Regions from separate parts of the Homo sapiens genome. Here region 1 is linked to region 2. The links are contacts of gene promoters, found by promoter capture Hi-C in human tissues and cell types (Jung and others, 2019). All regions are on one chromosome and are shown on one strand. The core of a region is centred on a gene start or on the middle of the fragment in contact, and the rest is flanking DNA. Distances in the headings are between cores, read along the strand shown.

Region 1 (4,338 bases), core at 506-3,005, 240 kb before region 2:
GCCATTTAAAGATGAGGAAAATCAAGTTGAGAGAAATTAAGAAACTTCCCCAAAGCCATGTAGTCTCCAGCTGCTAGAGATTTCAGGCCAGGATAGCCCATGCTCCTTCCCCTGTTGAAGCATCTGCCTTCGAGAAAATGACTCTGGCTATCTCAGACAGAAAAGGAATGATTTAGAAGCCTTTCCGGAGCCTCCAGATTATGGAGAAGTTTTGGAACTAGACAGGCTCCAAGGCTGTCAGGGCCAAGAAACAGGAAGTACAATAGCCGGTGTTTTAGGGAAACGATCTGGCCAGCATGCAGCCACCATTGCTGCTGGAAATCCATCCTAACTATCCCTCTGTTTGGGGTCACTTGCACCATACTGAGTGTTTGATGGGAAGGTCCAGCTGGCCAAGCCTAGGTCATATCTTACCTTTCCACTTCCAAAGGAGGAGGCAGAACACTGTCTTCATACATTTCCCTTAACAGGAAACGGTTGGGATGCCCTACAGCAGGAAAAAGGAGAGTGTCCACCACGTGGGAAAGAGACTCAAACTATTCCCTGAATGACAAGCTGTGGATAAACTTTCTTTTGTTTGTATTTGGTAATGTTTCCATTGCTAAAATATGCATGACCAAAAAACAGGTAGTTCAAGATAAATACCAAGCTAACCACTCTATTCTCTCATTTATCTGTCCTAGCCAATGGAAACCAAAATTAATCCTGCTGGGAACATTTTGAGCTGAGAGAGGGTGTAGGACATCTAGGTTGTTCTCTGAGATGTAAGCTTAAGAGATTTTTAAAGTGCATCTCTGCTAGGCAGAGGCATCTTCTCCTTAAATCTGTAGATGCTGCTCTGTAGTTAAAGTTATTAGAGTTCCTTCTTTGTGCTACAGTGCCACTCTGTTGTGGAACTTATCCAGTCATCAAAGACATTGCATGGTAAAGAATGTGTAATGAGTCTGCTCTTTACCAACTCATGGTGGCTAGCTTCTAGGAATTTCTTTCAAGTGTTCTGTCAAGGACTTCTCAGGACATTAGAAGGTGAAGATAGAAAAGAATTGCTTGCCTTTTACTTATGCCACAATGCCTACATTTTAGTGGTTTTTAAGTTTTTTACTTACTGACTTGTTCAGCGTTTGAAAGGTGTGGCAAGGCATTCTTTCTAGCAAGTAGTGAATTTCTTTTGTTTTGTTTTGTTTTGAGACAGTCTCGCTCTGTCACCCAGGCCAGGGTGCAGTGGCACGTGATCTCTGCTCACTGCAACCTCTGCCTCCCAGGTTCAGGCGATTCTTGTGCCTCAGCCACCAGAGTAACTGGGATTATAGGTGTGCGCCACCACACCTGGATAATTTTTGTATTTTTAGTAGAGACAGGGTTTCGCCATGTTGGCCAGGCTGGTCTCAAATGCCTGGCCTCAAGTGATCTGCCCCCCAAAGTGCTGAAATTACAGGCATGAGCCACTGCTCTTGGCAGCCTTGGGTGGTGAATTTCTAAGGCAATTAGATGCAAGCTCATTTAACTCTTGAGTAGTCTGAATAGTGAATATCAATAGCTATTTCAGAAGAGTCACTTTGGAGAGCGTTCCTCCAAATTCAGTATGTTGTAATCCAAAAATCCAGTACAAAATCATTGTTGCATTCATCAGAACTTTTTTTCCAATCTCTCTCCTCACTGTATTGTTTGCCCCATAGAAGAAGCAGGCCATCAGGACCTGATCTTACTTGGATTTGGCCATTTTCAATTTCTTTCTCTAGTAAAACTTTTCACCATTGTTCCTTAAAGATAGCAGTTGTCTGATTTGCATGCTGCTTCTATTTTTTATAAGCACTCAAAATAATTTCTTAAGATCTCAGCCACCCTTTTATTTTAACAGTTCTGTGAAATAATTGAAAGGCAGTAAGTAACAAAAAGAAGAAACTGCCAGGCGCGGTGGCTCACGCCTGTAATCCCAGCACTTTGGGAGGCCGAGGCGGGCAGATCACCTGAGGTCTAGAGTTCGAGACCAGCCTGACCAACATGGAGAAACCCCGTCCCTACTAAAAATACAAAATTAGCTGGGCCTGGTGGCGCATGCCTATAATCCCAGCTACTCAGGAGGCTGAGGCAGGAGAATCGCTTAAACCCGGGAGGCAGAGGTTGTGGTGAGCCAAGATCGCGCCATTGCACTCCAGCCTAGGCAACAAGAGTGAAACTCCATCTCAAAGAAAAAAAAAGAAGAAACTGCCAAGGACCTGTACAATCCTCAAATCAAGCTGATTTCAGAATAGCTTTTAGCTGAGTGTCCACTATAACCTTTCTCTTATCTCCAGTTTTGAAATCTCTGAATATTTGGGTATTTTGAAGTCTGCTACATGCAAGAAAGGTATTTGCCTGATCTGATCTTGTTACTGGAAAGGGTCTGGATCCAGATCCCAAGAGAGGGTTTTTGGACCTCGCGCAAGAAAGAATTTGGGGCGAATCCATAGAATAAAGTGTTTTCACAAGTTTATTAAAGAAACAGAAGAATGGCTACTCTATAGGCAGAGCAGTGGCGTGGGCTGCTCAACTGAGTATACTTAGTTATTTCTCGATTATATGCTAAACAGGGATGGATTATTCATGAGTTTTCTGGGAAAGGGACAGGCAATTCCTGGAACCAAGGGTTCCTCTCCTTTTTAGACTATATAGGGTAACTTCCAAACTGCCATGACATTGTAAAGTGTCATGGCACCTGTTAGAGTGTCTTTTAGCATGCTAATGCATTATAATTAGCATATAATGAACAGTGAAGATGACCAGAGGTCACTTTTGTTGCCATCTTGGTTTTGGTGGGTTTTGGCCAGCTTCTGGCTGGCTTCTTTATTGCATCCTGTTTTATCAGCAGGGTCTTTGTGACCTGTATCTTGTGCTGACCTCCTGTCTCATCCTGTGACTAAGAATGCCTAACCTCTTGGGAATGCAGCTGAGCAGCCCAGCAAGTCTAAGCCTCATTTTACCCTGCCCCTATTCAAGATGGAGTCTCTCTGGTTTGAATGCCTCTGACAATCTTGTGCTGATATACAAGTGTACTGACTGATCTTGGAATCAGAAGAATTTAGGTTCAAACCTGGCTCTGTTTCTTGGGCAAGTAATATATGCTTGGGCAAGCTGGTTGACCTCTTTGAGCCTTTGTTTCCTCTTAAAATGGAGTCTGATGCCACCAGCCTCATGATAATGTTAGTGAGAATTAAATGAACTAACAAATGTGAAAGTGCCTGAACAAAGGAGGCACTGGGAAAATATTTGTTGGTGAAGTCATTATCTATTCACTTGGAACCAGCCCTCTAAGTCATAATTTTAGTATTTTCAAAAAACCATGAGCTCTCTCATCATCCAGAAAGCTTAGAATCCCAGCCATTAGGTCAGTGGTCGTAAAAGACACACTCTCTGTTCCCAGGTCAGAGCAGGCAGACTTGCTAATCTTCTGGGCCTTGTCTCTCTCCAGGAAGGCTACGGCATTGGGGATGATGAATACTCCTGTGCGTATGATGGCTGCCGGCAGCTGATTTGGTACAATGCCAGAAGTAAGCCTCACATACACCCATGCTGGAAAGAAGGTATTCATTCCCTCCATTATAAATTTATCAAGTGGGTTAAGACATCTGGTTATTATGAGGCATTTATTACATTAAGCCTTAAAATGTCTTAGGAGAAGATCAAATGTGAAAAGGGATATTAACTTTTGTGTCACTGCCAAGGATATAAATGGTATTCCTCTGATAAATTTACCTCTGGTGGAGTTCTTCCTGTAGCAAAAACATTTCAGAAAATAAATTTTTTACATTTGTCAGAAAATGATACTCAAGATTAGTATGAATTCTATTTTCCTCTTTGGATCTGTTTTGAATTAAAGCAGCCATGGCAATATCAGGGACACTGGAATTGTAATGCCACTAAAATGAGGATTTTTCAGGGACAAGATGGCTATGGAACAGGTCCTATCCAGTGGCCACGCTCTAAGGAAGTAGGGTCATATGGTAGAGGATATAACCTCTGGAAGGATTTGATTCCTAGCATCAGAGCTAGATAGAGGATATAACCCAACTCTTTCTCCAAGCATCCCTCTCTCATTTTGCTACCCCAATCAGCATTATGGATATAAACTGAATTTTTAGGCATGCTAAGAAAGCAGAAATTTAGGCTGAGGCAGGTGGATTGCTTGAAGTCAGGAGTTCAAGACCAGCCTGGCCAACATGGTGAAACCTCATCTCTACTAAAATACAAAAATTAACCAGGTGTGGTGGCACCCACCTGCGGTCCCGGCTACTTGGGAGGCTGAGGCAGGAGAATCAGTTGAACCCAGGAGGCAGAGGTTGCAATGAGCCGAGGTTGCGC
Region 2 (4,560 bases), core at 4-2,503:
AAGTCTTCCCATCAGTAAAATACGGGTAACAGAAGCCTTCCCACAGACCATCAGCTCCCTTGGCTGCTCTTGTCTGACGATTTTAGTGGTACATTCTTTAGCCCCAGTAATTTTCTCAGCCTCTACACTGGCTGGGTTCCCTTTGCACGTCTGGTTAGCTCTGTTTTCTGCTTTGCTCTCTTCTGCCTGTCAGCTGAATATTAATGGGGGAAAGTCAGCAACTAATTGAATTTCAGATCTCTTGTGGGTCTTCCACTGGATCTTTTTTGCACCTCTCAATTCCTTGTATCTCTTGACATCCTGTGAAGTTTTCGCAGTAGCTGTTCCAGTTTTCATTGCATTCTCCTTTTTCCTTCATAGCATCCATCTTACACTCAGCAGACAACCATAATTCTTAATTTACCAAGATGACACAGGTTATGGAGCAGGGTTCCATCAGTGCCCACCCTCTGTTTCAGGAAGAGGTGTCACTCTTTGCAAAGGCAAACTCCTCTTTATCTGGTTACTCTTCTCCCAACTCTTAAATGTATTTCCTGCCACGTTCTATTTTAGAGCTTTTCTCTGTTGGAGCAGCAGCCACTTTTTTTGAGGCCCATTTAAACCTCTCTCCAGTCTGTTTAGGGGACTTCAGTAGTTCTTTGTTGAGCATGCACCCCACATGGTGCCCACTGCCAGGCACTGGGGATGCAGAGACAAAGAGTTCCCACTCACCCACCACAGCTACACAGACTGTAGAGGAAGCATTAGGTTAAAGAACATTGTATCTTTTCCTGAAGTTTTCAGAAGTGCATGGTCCATACTTGAGACTGCAAGGGAAAGGGTATTTACTTATAATTCAGGTATACTTTGCTAAAATATACATTCATATTAAAATATACTTTTGTTTTTCTATAGATGTACAAGTTCTTTTTAAGTGCTTCATAGTATTCCATGTGTGTATACTCCACCAGGTCTCTTATCAATGGACAGTACAAACAGTACTACCACGAACGTCCCTGCACTCGTATCTTTGTTTACAACTGCAAGTGTTTCTGCAGTATGAATTCTTAGAAGTGTTACTGTTAAGTGAAGGACGTATGCGTGTTTTGCCAAACTACCCTCCGAGATAGCTGAATCTGGTACATTTTAAAGCAGGAGGCCGCAGAAGACGCTCGGCAGTTCTGGCCTCCGAGCAGCAGGCGGCGCTGTGAGTCGTCTTTGCGGAAGCCGCGGAGGCCTCGCTGACTGACTTCCGGTGTTGGCGGTGGCGCCGCGCAGTCACCGCGGAGCAGACGCGGAGGCTGGTGGCCCCTGGGCGAGATGCCGTACGCCAACCAGCCTACCGTGCGGATCACGGAGCTCACTGACGAGAATGTCAAGTTCATCATCGAGAACACCGACCTGGCGTAAGGCTACCGAGGGAAGAGGCTGGCGGCTCTGGGGCGCCGGGAGGCCCAAGCCGGGGCCCCGGGGCAGGGGGCGGGGGTGTAGTGGGGTGGGGTGGGGGCGATGTCCTTCCAGAGCTGCCCCCCTGCACCAGGGCTTTAGCTTTGGGAGCCTGCGGCGCGGGCCCAGCCTGTCGAGGCTGCAGCGCCTTCACGCCCCTTGGCTTTTGATCTTTCAGGGTGGCCAATTCGATTCGGAGGGTCTTCATCGCTGAGGTTCCCATAATAGGTAAGCGACTCCCCTTCCTCGTTCCCGCGCCCACGGGTTCCTGCCCCGCTCTCCACCCACACACTCTTTGGGGCTCCTTCCAGTCCTTGGTTCGGGCTGAGGGTGGTAGTGCTGAGAAAAGTGCATTGCTGGAGACTTGACCATACCCTGTGCCCTTGGCTCAGTGGCCGCCTCCCTGGCGCCCACGGGCCACTTAGGTCCACCCTTGTCCTGGGTATGCATTGCTGAGAAGCATGGGTTTAGCAGTGTGCAGACTTGGGTTCAAATACTGTTTTCACTACTATTGTTACAAAAGTTTTTAAAATGTTTTCAACTTTTATTTTGGAGTCAAGGGGTACATTGGTGCAGGTTTGTTGCCTGGGTATAGTGCGTGATGCTGAGATTTGGGGTATAAATGATCCTTTCACCCAGGTAGTGAGCATAGTACGCAATAGGTAGTTTTTCACCCCTAGCCCCACTGCCTCCCTTCCAGCTCTAGTAGTCACCAGTGTGTTTATTGTCATCTTTATGTCCGTGCGTACCCAGTTTTAGCTCCCATGCGGTGTTTGGTTTTCTGTTCCTGTGTTAATTCTCTTAGGATAATGGCTTCCAGGCCGCGCTCGCGCCTGTAATTCCAGCACTTTGGGAGGCCAAGACTGAGGAACACCTGAGGCCAGGAGTTTGAGACCAGCCTGGCCAACATGGGGAAAGCCCGCCTCTACTAAAAATGCAAAAATTAGCCAGGTGTGGTGGCTCCCACCTGTAATCCCAGCTACTGGGGAGGCTGAGGCAGAATTGATTGAACCCAGAAGGTGGAGGTTGCAGTGAGCCGAGATCATGCCACTGCACTCTGGCCTGGGCAATAGAGTGAGACTCCTTCTCAAACAAAAGAAAATAAAAAAGAAGATAGTGGCTTCCAGCCACGTCCATGTTGCTGCAGAGGACATGATTTCGTTCGTTCTTATGGCTGCATCACTTACTGCTTTTGTGAAACTTGGGCAAGTTATTAAACTTCTGTGTGCTGCAGTTTCCTCATCTGTAACATTCGGCCACTAATGATCCTTATCAGGGTAATGTTAAGGATTAAGTGAGGTAATCCATATAAGTGCTTTGTGTTTAGTGAGTGCTCAGTGCTGGTAGATGGCTTTTTTATTAATCTATTCCTTCAACAGCATTTATGGAGCATGAAAGTGGCAGGCATGGTGGTAAGCTCTGGGAATGCAAAGCTGTAGAGAACAGGGTTTTTGCCCTCATGGAGTCCACAGTGAGGTTGTAGGGGAGAGATGAATCCACAGACAACACTAAAGCAAGGTAGATTTTGATCAGTAGTTCAGGAGAAGCATAGCTGTGGTGCACTTGGCTCTTAGAGGAGGGAAGATCAATTTCTGGTCTGGTTCCAGCCACTCTGCTCCAGGTGCTTAATGCATTGATTATACTTGTATGAAATACTTCAAGCATTTCTGAGAGTCAGCTCAGAGAGTTTGGATTAGGCAAAATAAATATAAGTCATAGCTGTGGCATCAAATATTCAGACTTTTAAGGAAATAAGCAGGCCAAATGATTAGGCAAGAGAACATTGTAGTTTATCCACTACCACCACCACCCCACCCCCCCGCCCCCCAGTCACTTCTTAAATTCAGCTTGGAGTGCTGGACCTCCCCCTGCCTAAGCACTTCATGCCTCTGGACCTCAGTTTCATCAGGAGTCAGGTGAGGGAGTTGTACTTCATGATGCAGCCCTGCCATTCTGAGTCTAAATGCCTCTTTCCCAACAAATTCAGTTCTACAAATAATATTGAGCACCCATGCTAGGAATACAAAGACATCCCAGGACCTGCGTGAAGGAATTTCTGAAGCTTGAGGTATAGACATAACATACACAAATATGACACAAGGCACACTATGACAAGTGTCTTGAGGGAAGTCTGAACAGAGTTTTGTGAGAGAGGAGTTGAAAGGGAGGGAATGTCACATCTGTAGCATAGAGAGCAGGCAAGGCTTAGTTTTCAGGAGGCACAGAGGATCTTAACCTGTACAGCAAGGAGGGGAAGGGTGTGCTGGAGGGAAGGGCTGGGGGATTAAAGAGGCAGAAAAGCTTGGGTCAGGGTTCTCTCAGTTGGCTTGGACTGGGGAAGCAATGGGAAGCATAGCAGGACAGAGCAGGTGGAGGCCTGGCAGGGGGAGGTCCTCTTCCGACCGCTGTTCCTAGTGTCTGTGTCCCTCGTTTGGCAGTTGGGCTCCAGTGCCATTTGATTCCTGGATTTAGTTGGTTCCATGCAAATGTTTATGAATGAATAAATGTGTGTTTAAGTCAAGCATGTGTGATCGATAATACAGTCTTTACCCTCCTACGAGCTCATTGCTGCTAGGGATTGGGTTCTATATTTAGTATACTTTGCGCATTAAAAGAATTCAGTAAACATTTGTTGATTGAGTGTTTAAAAAGTGCTAAGTTGGGCAGTCCAGTCATTATATCCTAAAATGAGGTATGGCCCCATAAGTCTGTGTTGCTTCTGTGAGGGTTTCCCTGACTTTGAAGTGCTCAAATAGTTCATGTTCTTGGATTTAGTGGTGGCACAGGTAGCAGATTTAAGTGCTTCTCATGCAAATACTCAGCTCAAATAAACATGTTTCCACTTCTATGATATTCTATAAGTCAGTGTTTTCTGTGAAGCAGGGAGCCCCCTGCATTAAATTCACCTGGGCAGGGAGGTGAGGTGTGGTGTGTGTGGGTCTTATTAAAATGCAAGTACCTGGGCCCCACTCTAATGCTGTGGAATCAGCCCAGCAATCTGCAGTTTAGTGTCAGGTGATTCCTAAATCTTGAGAACCACTGCATTAAGTCTGTAGGTAAATTTGATGGCTAAACTCCATGTCTGCTTCTTTCATTTTTTAGCCATTGACTGGGTTCAGATTGATGCCAATTCCT

The links. The method cuts DNA at HindIII sites, captures the fragments that hold promoters and counts their contacts. A contact is called where the count stands out against the background at its distance.
Region 1: a contact is called between a fragment that was not itself captured here and the fragment with the promoter of POLR2C in region 2, in 2 of the 25 tissues and cell types used here (aorta and dorsolateral prefrontal cortex).

What each region holds. Positions count from the first base shown.
Region 1 is chr16:57,223,894-57,228,231 of GRCh38, forward strand. RSPRY1 (ring finger and SPRY domain containing 1) reads left to right here. Exons shown (of 15, transcript NM_133368.3): 11 at 3,449-3,560. Among named protein-coding and RNA genes, the nearest start is that of ARL2BP, 19 kb to the right of the region's middle. The HindIII fragment of the contact is 5,127 bases long and covers 1-4,319 here.
Region 2 is chr16:57,461,426-57,465,985 of GRCh38, forward strand. POLR2C (RNA polymerase II subunit C) reads left to right here and starts at 1,254. Exons shown (of 9, transcript NM_032940.3): 1 at 1,254-1,385; 2 at 1,604-1,653; 3 at 4,528-4,560. The coding sequence starts at 1,300. RefSeq lists an enhancer at 1,112-1,406. The HindIII fragment of the contact is 18,274 bases long and covers 1-4,560 here.